3 separate regions of the Homo sapiens genome follow, and regions 2 and 3 are each linked to region 1. Evidence: promoter capture Hi-C in 16 types of primary human blood cells and fetal thymus (Javierre and others, 2016). All regions are on one chromosome and are shown on one strand. Each heading gives the region's core, a stretch centred on a gene start or on the middle of the fragment in contact. The rest is flanking DNA. Distances are from core to core; before and after follow the strand shown.

The links. The method cuts DNA at HindIII sites, captures the fragments that hold promoters and counts their contacts. A CHiCAGO score of 5 or more calls a contact.
Region 2: a fragment that was not itself captured here is called in contact with the fragment with the promoter of BNIP1 in region 1 in 1 of 17 cell types (total B cells); the score reaches 5.4 in total B cells.
Region 3: a contact is called between a fragment that was not itself captured here and the fragment with the promoter of BNIP1 in region 1, in 3 of 17 cell types (fetal thymus, naive B cells and total CD8 T cells). The highest score is 7.3, in fetal thymus.

The regions. Positions count from the first base shown.
Region 1 is chr5:173,142,959-173,146,796 of GRCh38, forward strand. It overlaps BNIP1 (BCL2 interacting protein 1), which reads left to right and starts at 1,573. Exons shown (of 6, transcript NM_001205.3): 1 at 1,573-1,671. The coding sequence starts at 1,588. RefSeq lists enhancers at 1,766-2,294, 2,236-2,305. The HindIII fragment of the contact is 7,780 bases long and covers 1-3,838 here.
Region 2 is chr5:172,753,043-172,757,349 of GRCh38, forward strand. It overlaps LOC101928093 (a long non-coding RNA gene), which reads left to right and starts at 2,461. Exons shown (of 4, transcript NR_161233.1): 1 at 2,461-2,657. The HindIII fragment of the contact is 263 bases long and covers 1,427-1,689 here.
Region 3 is chr5:172,718,851-172,722,982 of GRCh38, forward strand. No RefSeq gene overlaps it. Among named protein-coding and RNA genes, the nearest start is that of DUSP1, 50 kb to the right of the region's middle. The HindIII fragment of the contact is 163 bases long and covers 1,781-1,943 here.

The DNA.
Region 1 (3,838 bases), core at 323-2,822:
TCATTCTCCTGCCTCAGCCTCCCAAGTAGCGGGGACTACAGGCGTCCGCCACCACGCCCGGCTAATTTTTATATTTTTAGTAGAGACGGGGTTTCACCGTGTTAGCCAGGATGATCTCGATCTCTTGACCTCGTGATCCACCCGCCTCGGCCTCCCAAAGTGCTGGGATTACAGGCATGAGCCACCGTGCCCGGCCTAGGCTTTGCCACTTTCAAGATAGGTAATCTTGCAACAGGGTTGATTGTTTTTTGTTTTAATTTACTCTAAGCCCTACTCCTGATCTGTGATAATAGTGTAGTACAATTTCAAGGGTGGTTGTGAGGATTAAGAGAGATGAACATGGTCGGGCACAGTGGCTCACGCCTGTAATCCCAGCACTTTGGGAGGCCGAGGCGGGTGGATCACGAGGTCAGTTCGAGACCAACCTGACCAATATGGTGAACCCCGTGTCTATGAAAAATACAAAAATTAGCTGGGCATGGTGGCACGCACCTGTAATCCCAGCTACTCAGGAGGCTGAGGCAGGAGAATTGCTTGAACCTGGGAGGTAGAGTTTGCAGTGAGCCAAGATTGTGCCATTGCACTCCAGCCTGGGCAACAGAGCGAGACTCCGCCACAAAAAAAAAAAAAAAAAAAGAGAGAGAGATGAACATTCAAGTCCTAAGCCTTTAGGTCCTCACAATCTATGCTTGCTGAAGTGACCCGAACAAATGCAGATGGAGTGGGGTCGAGTGGGGGAAACGCTTTCTAGGGAGAGGGAACACCACATTCTAAGGCTACACATCCAGAAGGAGCTTGAGCAATCCAGGAAGGGCGCAGGGTGCGGTGGCTGATGGCCGGGGTGGCTGATGGCCTTGAGGACCAGCTAAGAAACTTGGATTATTTACTAACAAAAATAAAAGAGCCACCATTTGTTGAGGGTTTGCTCTGACATTTCCATCAAAACTACCTTAGCAAGGTAGATTTAATAAATCCAGTTGTATACAAAAGGGAAACACGAGAAGCCATAGAAGGGCTGCATACAGGTAGGTGACTTGATCAATTTCGTGTTTTACAAAGATCCCTTAGATCATGTGTTGGAGTGATAGGAGGTACTCTACCGACCTGCCTTGAACTCCATACTTTAAAAAATATATGACGTTTATCATTTCCTCTTTTACTCCACAATTTATACTCACTGTAGAAAATATTAAAAATATAAGAAAGTTTGAAGAAACAAAAAATTATTACTGGTACTTTCCAGAGACATCTCAATTGATACTTTTCTTCCAGTCTTTTTTTTTCTATGTAAAAAATATATAGTTATTAGAATGCCTGACAGAAGGAAGATGGAAAGAGACCACTGTGAAGCGTTCTTGATATTCCCTCTTCCCTTCCTCTCCATGTTATTAGGGCCATACCAAGAGGAGAGGCTGATTTCCCTACACGTGTCAGGGAAAGTCCCAACTCTGCGCAGTGACCCTCGCTTGCCATTTTCGCCGGTCTCTAGGGGGCGCTGCCCCGAGACTGGGTGGGGAGGGAAAGAAGGTGGTGCGAAAACGCGTTTGAACTTGGGTCCTGCCGCTGCCCGTAGCCGGCGTCCCCAACATGGCGGCTCCCCAAGACGTCCACGTCCGGATCTGTAACCAAGAGATTGTCAAATTTGACCTGGAGGTGAAGGCGCTTATTCAGGTACTGATCCCGGGACCCCTGCCGGGCTCCAGCAGCCCTAACCCAAGCTCTGCTGGTCTGTGAGCTTGGCAGTGTCACTCCCGAACTTTCCCCACTTGGTTTCCCAGACCACAGGCTCCGCCCCATGGTCGGCTACCCCCCCGGTCCCCATTTGGTTGTGTCCCGGTGACTGCTGGCCTTGATCCTTTTTCCGGGTGCCGCCGGATCTCCCATCCCCAGAGCACCCCACTGTTCTCCGCCCCTGACTCAGCTACTGCTTCGGGGCTCGGCTTTGCCCCTTCCACCTGCAGCCCTGGTCGTCGCCCCGCCCCTGACTACCTCACAACCTACCTGTCACCCTGCTTGGCCCCGCCCTCTGACGCTGCTTCAGCATCCTCTGGTAGCGTCCGGGAGGCAGCTAGCCCCGCCCCCTGCTGGCCAGCTCTCCTGGCATCCAAGGCCACCTGGCACGGGAGGCACCGGGTGAAACGAATGTAACCTGGACCGTAGTTGTGATTTTATGCTTGAGGAAATCGAGTACGGCGCCAAGGCCTAGGTTAGAAGGCATACCTGGGTCAGTGGCAAAACTGGGACCTGGACTGTGAAAGTCAACCTAGGAATAACACCTTAGAGTGTTACCCCGTTTGAACAGATAGGAAATGAAGTGTTTCGCCTTAAGCCATTTAAGGGTAGAGGTAAAATAAACGAGTGGACTTAGGCAAGAATTGGGAGTGTAGACACGGTTCCATGAGTTCAGCAAAAAGAAACCGAGTTTTAAACCTTGTTTTTGCTTGTTTGTTTTTGTTTTTTTGAGACGGAGTCTCGCTCTGTCGCCCAGGCTGGAGTGCAGTGGCGCGATCTCGACTCGCGGCAAGCTCCGCCTCCCGGGTTCCCGCCATTCTCCTGCCTCAGCCTCCTGAGTAGCTGGGACTACAGGCACCCGCCACCACGCCCGGCTAATTTTTGTGTTTTGCTTAGTAGAGACGGGGTTTCACCGTGTTAGCCAGGATGGTCTCGATCTCCTGACCTCGTGATCCGCCCGCCTCGGCCTCCCAAATTGCTGGGATTACAGGCGTGAGCCACCGCGCCCGGCCTAAACCTTGGTTTTTAAAAATAATCATTTTCAACAAAGTCACTAAACATTAGATGTAGACTCAGAGTTTGTAACAAGGTGTGGCAAAAAGTGCAGGAAAATAGGGCTCCCCAGATAAACCAGATGCAGAATAAACCAAATTAGATGCAGAATAAACAAATACGGTGCAAAGAAGTGTGATTAAATGAATAAGCCAGAGAAAAAGTGAAATTTGATGCAGATATTTAAAACTTCTTGAACTTCACTTCTCTGATGTATACATTACAAAACTTCTGGGCCAATTATAGAAAAATAAACAGGTTTCATACAAATGAAATTACATTTTCACATAATCTAAATTGCTTAGGCATTCTTCTGTACTCTTTCTAACATTTGGGTTCTTGTCATTGCTGATGAGAAAGACTGATTATAGCTGGATGTATTGCGTTCTTACCGTTTTCCAGCAGCTCTGCTAAGTGCTTTACATACATACATAATCTATGATGTTCTATGAGGTAAGTAGTGTTGTGATAAGGAAACTCAGACACAGAGAATTTAAATAACTTTCCAGGTAACTTTACACAGCTCATAAGTTGCTACAGCCAGGATTCGAATCCACCTGGTCTGTCTCCAGAGCCTGCCGTGAAAGCTGGCACCAGTAATTCTGAATGTCCAGCAACAGATTCTAAATCTGCCCTTAAACATGTCTATATAAACACTCTAACTTATCACTAATGGTTTGTAAAATCACACTGGAGAAGTTAATCTCATCATATGATGCCAGATATTTAAACATCCTGATCTTCCAAGTTGGAAGGATCTAAGGTTCTAAAGTGATAGTATCACTTTTGCATGTCCATTCTTGTTGGGCATACAAGCTGTTTTAAGCTGTTTCCTACTGGCCAGGTAATGTTTTGTTAAAATTTAGGCACTAAAAATTAGGTCAAAGCAGTTGTGTTTCTTTCTAGGCTTTTATATTAATTCAACATTAATCTAAAAAGGAATGAGAAAAATGTAAATGATAATGTTTTTGCTTGTGTTGCAGAGGTAAACAGCAAAGATCAGGATGAATTATAGTTAGTATGTTAATATTAGTTGGTCTAAACCAACTCTATC
Region 2 (4,307 bases), core at 308-2,807, 390 kb before region 1:
GAAAATATTTGCAAAAGATATATCTGATAAAGAGCTGTCATCCAAAATACACATAGAGCTCTTAAAATTCAACAGTATGGAAACAACCCACTTTAAAAATGAATAAAAGATACCTTAGATACCTTACAAACAAGATACACAGATGGCAAGCGAGCCTGTGAAAAAATGCTCAGCATCATGTGTCATCAGAGAAATTCAAATTAAAGCAACAGTGAGACACCACTACACACCTAGTTAAATGGCCAAAATCCAAAACTCGGATGCCACCAAATGCTGGAGAGGATGTGGGGCAATAGGAAGTCTCATCCAGGGCTGGTGAAAATGAAAAATGCTACAGCCACTTTGGAAGACAGTTTGACAGCTTCTTACAAAACTAAACATACTCTTGCCATGCAACCTAGCAATTGTGCTCCTTGGCATTTACCTAAAGGAATTGAAAATATTTCCACACAAAAACCTGCATGTGGATGTTTATAGCATCCAAACTCACAATTGCCAAAACTTGGAAGCAAGCATGATGTCCTTCAGCAGGTAAGTGAATAAACTGTAATACATCCAGAGAATGAAATATTATTCTGTGTTAAAAAGAAATGAGCTATCAAAGCCATAGAAGAGACATGGATGAATCTCAAATGCATATTACTAAGTGAAACACATTGATCTGAAAAGGCTACATACCATATGACATTCTGAAAAAGGCAAAACTACGGAGACAGTGAAAAGATCAGTGGTTGCCAGGAGTTATGGGGAGGGAGGGCTGAATACGCAGAGTATAGAGGATTTTGAAGGCAGTGAAACTCCTCTGTACGATACTACAATTGGGGATACCTATCACTAGACATTTGTCCAAACCCACAGAATGTCCAATACCAAGGGCGAATCCTAATGTAAACTATGGACTTTGGGTGATACTGATGTGTCAGTGTCGTTAACAGACTGTAACAAATGCACCACTCGCTCTGGTGGGGAATGTTGACAGTGGAGAAGTCTATGTGTATGTGAGGACGGGAGTATATGCGAAATCTCTGTACCTTCTGCTCAATTTTGCCATGAGCCTAAAACTGCTCTAAGAAATGGAGTCCATTGAAAAAATTTTTTTAAAAAGAGCCAATGATGCACACGAAAACATGGATTAATCTCAAAAAGCATGCTAATTGAAATAGACACAATAAAGGAATACTATATAATTCCACTTATAGAAAACTCTAGAAATCACAACTTTAGTCTACAGTGACAGAAAGCATAATGCTAGTTGGCTAAGGTGGGGAGGTTACGGACTGATTGGGAAGGAGCACAAAGGAATTTTTGACCACGGATATGTTCCATATCTTGAATGTATTGGTAGGTATAATACAGTCTGCAAACAATTGTTGAAATTTAAAAATATACAAAACTGTATAAATCTGTCAGAATATATTAAATTGTAAGCTTAAGTGAGATATAGTTATTAAAATAAATATTATCTCAATGAAGTTAGAAAAAGGAAAACTTTAAAAAGTGCACCAGAGCTAATGATAGTGCTCTGCTCCATGAAGTCCTTGTCAGACATATGAAGGGTCTGAGATTTCTTTTCTCCTACTTGCAAACTAACAACGAGCTTACCACAATTGCACAGATGCCAGCAGAAGACTCAGGACTCTTAGGTCAGAGACAAAGGACTTTATTACTCACAACACAGTAGGCAGCTCAAGCTTTATCTTTGCTCTGGTTTACTTGCCTCCTAAGTTCCATGGGGCTGGAGCAGGAGGCCCAGGTGGATCCTGTGCACACAGGGCTCATGTCAGAGCTGAGATATACTGAGCTTAGGAAACTCCTAATCTTATAAGCATAAGAGGCTGCTAACGAACCCGGTCAACATTCAACCTGGAGAAAGGCATTATCTTTATAATCCTGGTCAGGAAATAAATCTGTCCTCTGCTCCAGAGTGAGACACTATTCCTGCTCCCCCAGGCTATTTGTCATATAAACATCCTGAAAAGATGGTTCCACGCAAAAGGTGTCACAAGAGGTATAAGAATGCCATGGAGAATTGCCCCTCAACAGTCCTAAGGGAAGGAGACTCCCTCTGTCTTTCTGCTCTGCCGTCATTCCCGACATCACTTCATGGCTAAAAATGGCTGCCTCAGCTCCAGCCATCACTCTGTATTCCAGACCACAGGAAGGACAAAACAGGGAAGAAATGTATCAGCCCTCTCTTTAAGGACACTCCCTGGAAGTTGCACACACATTAGGTTTGACATTCAAACAGCTATGTCTGGCTGTAAGAGAGGCTGGGGAATGTGGACATATACCTGGCCAAAAGCCTATTACTAAGGAAGACTAGAGCCTGGGGAACAACCAGCCTTTCTGCTCTACATAGTCAGTGTCACAGTGGTCTGTGAATCTCTACATAGTCAGCATCACAATGGTCTGTCACAATGGTCTGTAAGTGGTCTATCAAGTGCTGAGGACACAGGACACATGAACCTTTATTCTAGGAGTCCTTGGGGGAGCTTCTCATTTAGTGCCATCCTTGGTACTTCCTACTTTCCCCAACCTTAAAGGGGATGTTAGGCCCCTGAGTGAGGGTGGGATTCACCCTTGTCTTGCCTGGTACAGTGGAAGGCCCTGCCAGGCTTAGGTCTTGGACCACACACTGTGTTAAACCTGAGCTGTGGGTAAGTCCTCTCCTTCTCCAGGCCTCAGCTACTCCCTCCAGGTGACATGGTGTATTAGTTTGTTTTGCATTGCTATAAAGGGATACCCAAGACTGGGTAATTTATAAAGAAAAGAGGTTTATTTGGCCCACAGCTCTGCAGGCTGTACAGGCAGCATGGTGCCAGCATCTGCTCAGCTTCTGGTGAGTCCTCTGGAAGCTTCTAGTCATGGTGGAAGCTAAAGGAAGGAGCCTGTGTATCAAATGGTGAGAGGGTACAAGAGGGAGAGGGAGGAAGGGCCAGGCTCTTTTAAATAGCCAGATCTCGGCAGGTGCAGTGGCTCATACCTATAATCCCAGCACTTAAGGAGGCCAAGGCAGGCAGATCACTTGGGGTCAGGAGTTCAAGACCAGCCTGGCCAACATGGTGAAATCCCGTCGGTACTAAATATACAAAAATTAGCCTGGCATGGTGGCAGTTGCCTATAATCCCAGCTACTGGAGAGGCTGAGGCAGGAGAATTGCTAGAACCCAGGAGGCAGAGATTGCAGTGAGCCGAGATCATGCCACTGCACTCCAGCCTGGGCAATAGAGTGAGACTCCATCTTAAAAAATATATAAATAAATAAATAAACAGCCAGATCACACGTGAACTCGTAGTCAGAACTCACTTGGCTGGGCACAGTGGCTCATGCCTGTAATCCCAGCACTTTGGGAGGCCGAGGCAGGCGGATCACTTGAGGTTAGGAGTTCAAGACCAGCTTGGCCAACATGGTGAAACCCTGTCTCTACTAAAAATACAAAAATTAGCCCGATGTGGTGGTGGGTGCCTGTAATCCCAGCTACTCAGGAGGCTGGGGCAGGAGAATCACTTGAACCCAGTAGGCGGAGTTTGCAGTGAGCCGAGATCAAGCCATTGCACTGTCCAGCCTGGGTGACAGAGCGAGACTCTGTCTCAAAAAAAAAAAAAAGAACTCACTCATTACCCCGAGGACAGCACCAAGCCATTCATGAGGGACGAACCCACCCCCATGGCCCAAACACCTCCCACTAGTCCCCACCTCCAATACTGGAGGTCACATTTCAAGGTGAGATTTGGAGGGGACAAAACATCCAAACTCTATCAATGGTTTGCTAAACGTGGCAATAATAATAAGCCCACCAAGCAGGCTAGATGGATGTACTAAATCAGTCACATATGTAAAGCAAATACTGGGTGAGACCTGTCTCAAAAAATAAAGCAGATAAGTAGGAATCTGAAGCCCAGAGAGGTGATGTAACTTGCTGAGAGTCACACAGCAAGGAAATGCTACACTTGGGGCTAGAACACAAAGCTGCTGCCTGAAGTCTTTGGCTATGGCTCAGAAAGTCTTAAGTCATTGATGATGATGAGGACACGACGAAGGAGAGTGGCCAGTGAAACCTACAACAGACCCTTCCTCTGGCTCATGGTGAAGGGAGAACAGCCTAAACTGCTCATCCGATGATGACATTGAGGGAAGCTGGGGCCAGCGGACAGGCTAGTGCTTTCCAGTCCTTCTTCCCGGCTGGTCATTTCCTTGGCTTCAGAGCAGCCCGGTGCCCACACTCTGAAACACCCACCGCAGGGGACACGGGGCTCTGATCCTTTTTGCGTAAAATAGCAGCATAAGGGCAGGGACCCTCATGAGGG
Region 3 (4,132 bases), core at 612-3,111, 420 kb before region 1:
TGGATGGATAGGATGGATGAATGGATGAATAGATGGATGGATGCATGGATGGATGAATGGATGGATGGACACGAGGGATGGATGGATGGACAGGATGGATGGATGGATGGATTGGATGGATGGATGGATAGGATGGATGGATTGGATAGGATGGATGGATGGATAGATGAATAGATGCATGGATGCATGGGTGGGTGGATGGACAGGATGGATGCATGGATGGATGGTTGGACAGGGTGGATGGATGGATGGATGGATGGATGGATGGATGGATGGATGGATGTTTGAAAGACTACTTGACCTAAGCCTGTGTTTGCTTTTTGACCCACAGGAAGGAGGTCAGAATAAAAGATGGCAGCAGTGACCCAGGTAAATAAGTCCTCCAGTGTGGGGCTATGGTGGGGAAAAGGGGTTAGGTGCCAGTGCTGGGGATGGGCCATCAGCAAATTCTGGCAACATCTAATGTGCACAGAGCAATGATGAGTAAACCCCAAGACGTGACCTGGAGCATCTCTTGTAAAGAACAGGGAGAGGGTGTAGTCCCTGAAGCTGGGACCAGGGCAGCAAAGCACGTCAAGGCTCTGACTCAGCCAGGAGCCATGGGAGTTTGAGAAACTGGGCGCAAACACCCACCTCATGCATGAACACGGCTCTGTATAGGCATGAAGGACTCTCACTTGTGGTGCCATGACTGAGCTTCCAACCATGGTCCTTGAAGCCAGTGGGACTCTACTCATGGTGCAGATGGAGAAACAGATGCTTCCAGAGGGGAAGTGACTTGTCCAAGACCACCCAGTCAGAAAATGGCTCACAGTTGGCTTGGGTGGGAGTTGGTGGGGTCAAATGGTTCTGGAGGGGCCAGAGGCTTGGGGTACGGGACTGTCAGGCCGGACTCAAGGGTCCTCAGGTGTAGACTCAGACCTGCCGCTCCAAGCTATGTCTCGAGTGCCCTGAGTGCCCTTCCCCAAATGCAATCTGACTGTGTCACGCTGTTTTTTGGAATCCTTAGGTGGCTCCCCAGTGGTGCGGGATCCTGTCCCAGACACTGGCTTGGCCTTCTGGTTCCTTCATCCCCTGCCCCGCAGACTTCTCCAACCTTGTGCCTCCACCTTCCACTCTCTGCACCCTGCCCTCCACCATCCTGACATGCTTACGTTTTCCTGAACAAACAGACCATATGTGCTTTCTAAGGCCCACACACATTTACACAGGCTGAGCCCTCTGTTAGGGACACCTTACCAACCTTCTTCACTCCAGTAGTTCCTACGGTGTCTTCAAGGTGTAGCTCTGGCCTCAACTGTCTCTGATCCACCCACTTACGTTTAGGCGGGGCAAGGTAGTCCCACTCCTTTCTGCCCCAATTACATGCTATGCTGAACTCTACCATCAAGACAATTACCATAGGCGATAATTAGCTGGTTACTAGTCTGCCTCCCCAGCTGGACTGTGAATTCCAAGAGAATGAGCTTTGGGACTTATTCACCTCCGTATCTGTAATGCCTGGCACAGCAGCTAGTTATTATTTGTGGAAGGGAGGGAGGGAAGGTAGAGAGCACCTTACAGTCTGTGAAGTGTTCTTTCATGCATGTAATTATTTTTAAACTTGGGGCAGCAAGGAAACATGCTGGGAAGGGTCCTCACCTCAAGCAAAGTTGTCATGCAGCAATCCTTTGTAAACCTGGTGTCTGGAACTCAAAACATAGAGGAAAATGGTGCCAAAGTGTTCGACTTTTGGAATATGGATATGCAGAGAAGCACCTTATGCTAGGGAAAGGACTCAAGCTTTGGAATCCAGAAGTACTGCAGTTTCAGAACGTTTCTAGCTGCAGGAAAGGAAACCCAACTCCAAGCCTCCACCTGACTTAGATAACAAGGGAGCTTGTTGGCTGGTGTGAGCAGAGCTGAATCTTCAGAGTGGTGCAGGCTGTCAAGGAGCTGGGTGAAGCTTTCGAGGACCTCTGTCCTCTTCATAGGTTCCCAAGTCAGTGTTACCCTGAGCGCATGGCACATGCTTCTCATTCCGCTATAGGAGGGGACATATTCCAATATCCATCCAGGAGTCCATTGGGCAGTTGTTCTCATTGGACAGTCTTGGGTCACACGACTACCCCTGAACCAATGCCTGTGGCCAAGGGAATGGGAGGCATTATCTGGTTCCAGCCCATCAGAGCCCTCCTTGGAGTTGAGGGGGCTCCCCTCCAAGCATGCTGGCTGTGGTCGGGGGGTGGTGGTAGGTACTTAGAAGGAGATCTGGGGATTGTTAGAAGGAATGGCTGCTGGGTAGGCAGCCAACAAGTGTCCCCAGCTCCTGAGTTCAAACTTTGACCCTGCCTCTTCTGTCACCGTGGGCAAGTCACTCCACCTCTCCAGGCCTCGGTTTCCCCACCTGTAAAATGGAAGAGTTGTGTTTCCATCACAGAGTGGTTGTGAAGACTCAGGGAGACAGAGTTTAAGAGGCTAGCCCAGTGGGAGGGGCCCAGGGGTGGGTCCCAGGGTCCCACCTTCTTGGTTCCTGAGGTTCTCAGGCTAGCCCACATTTCTCCACAAAGGAGCAGTGGTCTAGCCTATGAGAAATGTCACATGAGAAATATTTCTTGTTGTTTGTGAGAAAGGAGAGCACGTTTGTCCCAACGGGGCGAGGTGAGCCATTCAGGGGACAAGAAGGGCCTGTATCTCACCCGGACTTGGAGTCCATCTCAGCAGCACTGGGCACATCCTCATACTCAGCCCCTCATCCGTCCCAGACTCACTGGTGTCCCTTGACACCTCAAGTGTTCTCTTCTGCAAAAGGGGCCTGCCTGGCCACGTGGCCAAGGGCACAAACTCTGGAGCCAGGTGGCCCAAGGTCACCTCCCGGCTGTGCAACTTGGGGCCAGTTAACTGACCTCTCTGTGCCTCAATCCCCTCATCCGAAGAACAGGGACAATCATCATTCCTACCTCCCAGAGTTGTTACAAAACTTCAAATAAATCAAATCTTTATAAAGCATTTTATGAATGGCTATAGCGCAAAGCTAAAGCTATTGGAACCGGTTCAATGAACGCCAGAGCGTTATTTTCCAAACTCAGTCAGTTCCAGCGCGCTTTGATGATTTTTGCTAAATCTGCAGAGCACTTGTTTTCAAACTTAATATTTGTTTTTAATTGGCTCACTGAACTAAATGTATCTTAAAAGGAAACGTTGCATCACCACCCCGAATGGAAAAGTGGAATCATTTCCCATCAACACAAAAATGAATATAACAAGTGCTTACCATGTGCCAGGCACTCTGCTAAGCACATTACAAACATTAACTCATTCATCCCCATGAAAACCTTATGAGATGGGCACCACTGTATCTCAGTTATACAGAGGGGAAAACTGAGGCACGGGGATCTTAAGTAACTTGCACAAGGTCACAGCTGGAATGCAGCAGCATTATGATTTGAAACAAGGCAGCCTGGCTCCAAGAAACAAGACAGATAAATAAAACAAGGTCACCTCTTCTGTCTCAAGGTGGCCGCCTCCTGCAGGCTCTGTGCTGGGACCGCTATCTGTCACGCTATCTGTTAGATCAGCAAGTGGTAAAGAGGCGTTAAAACCAGAGTAGCACAAGCTGAGACTTTCTCCTTGAAGCAATCAGAAAATGGAAGGACAGCCAGAAAAAACAAATTTCTCACTGCGGGATTTACTGATGTCCTTAACGCCGAGAGTATATAAAAGCATCTTTCCTGGAGCCAGCAGTGTGCAACCCGTATTTTGTGAAAGCCCAAAGCAGAGGAAGCGCCCAGCGGCACCACCAGCATTTGCATCCCCCCATCCACACCCCCAGCCCCTGGCATTTTTTAGGTCAGGACATTGTTCAACATCGAGATGGGCAGAGCCACAGACAGGGATTAAGAAAGACATTAAATCCACTTAATAAGAATAGGCGAAAACCAAAAATTAATCACCAATAAAAGCAAATTAACTACCTGTACAGCAAAGTAATATCATATCACTGTCATACTACAGAGAGGGGGAAAACGAGCAAATCCATATAAGCGCTTAACGACCTGAACGCTACGTTACCCTTGGTGTAAAGGCAACAGTACTGGAAAGAAGGCTTGAACTTTATTTAATAGATTTATTGTTCACCAGGCCTGAAACCATT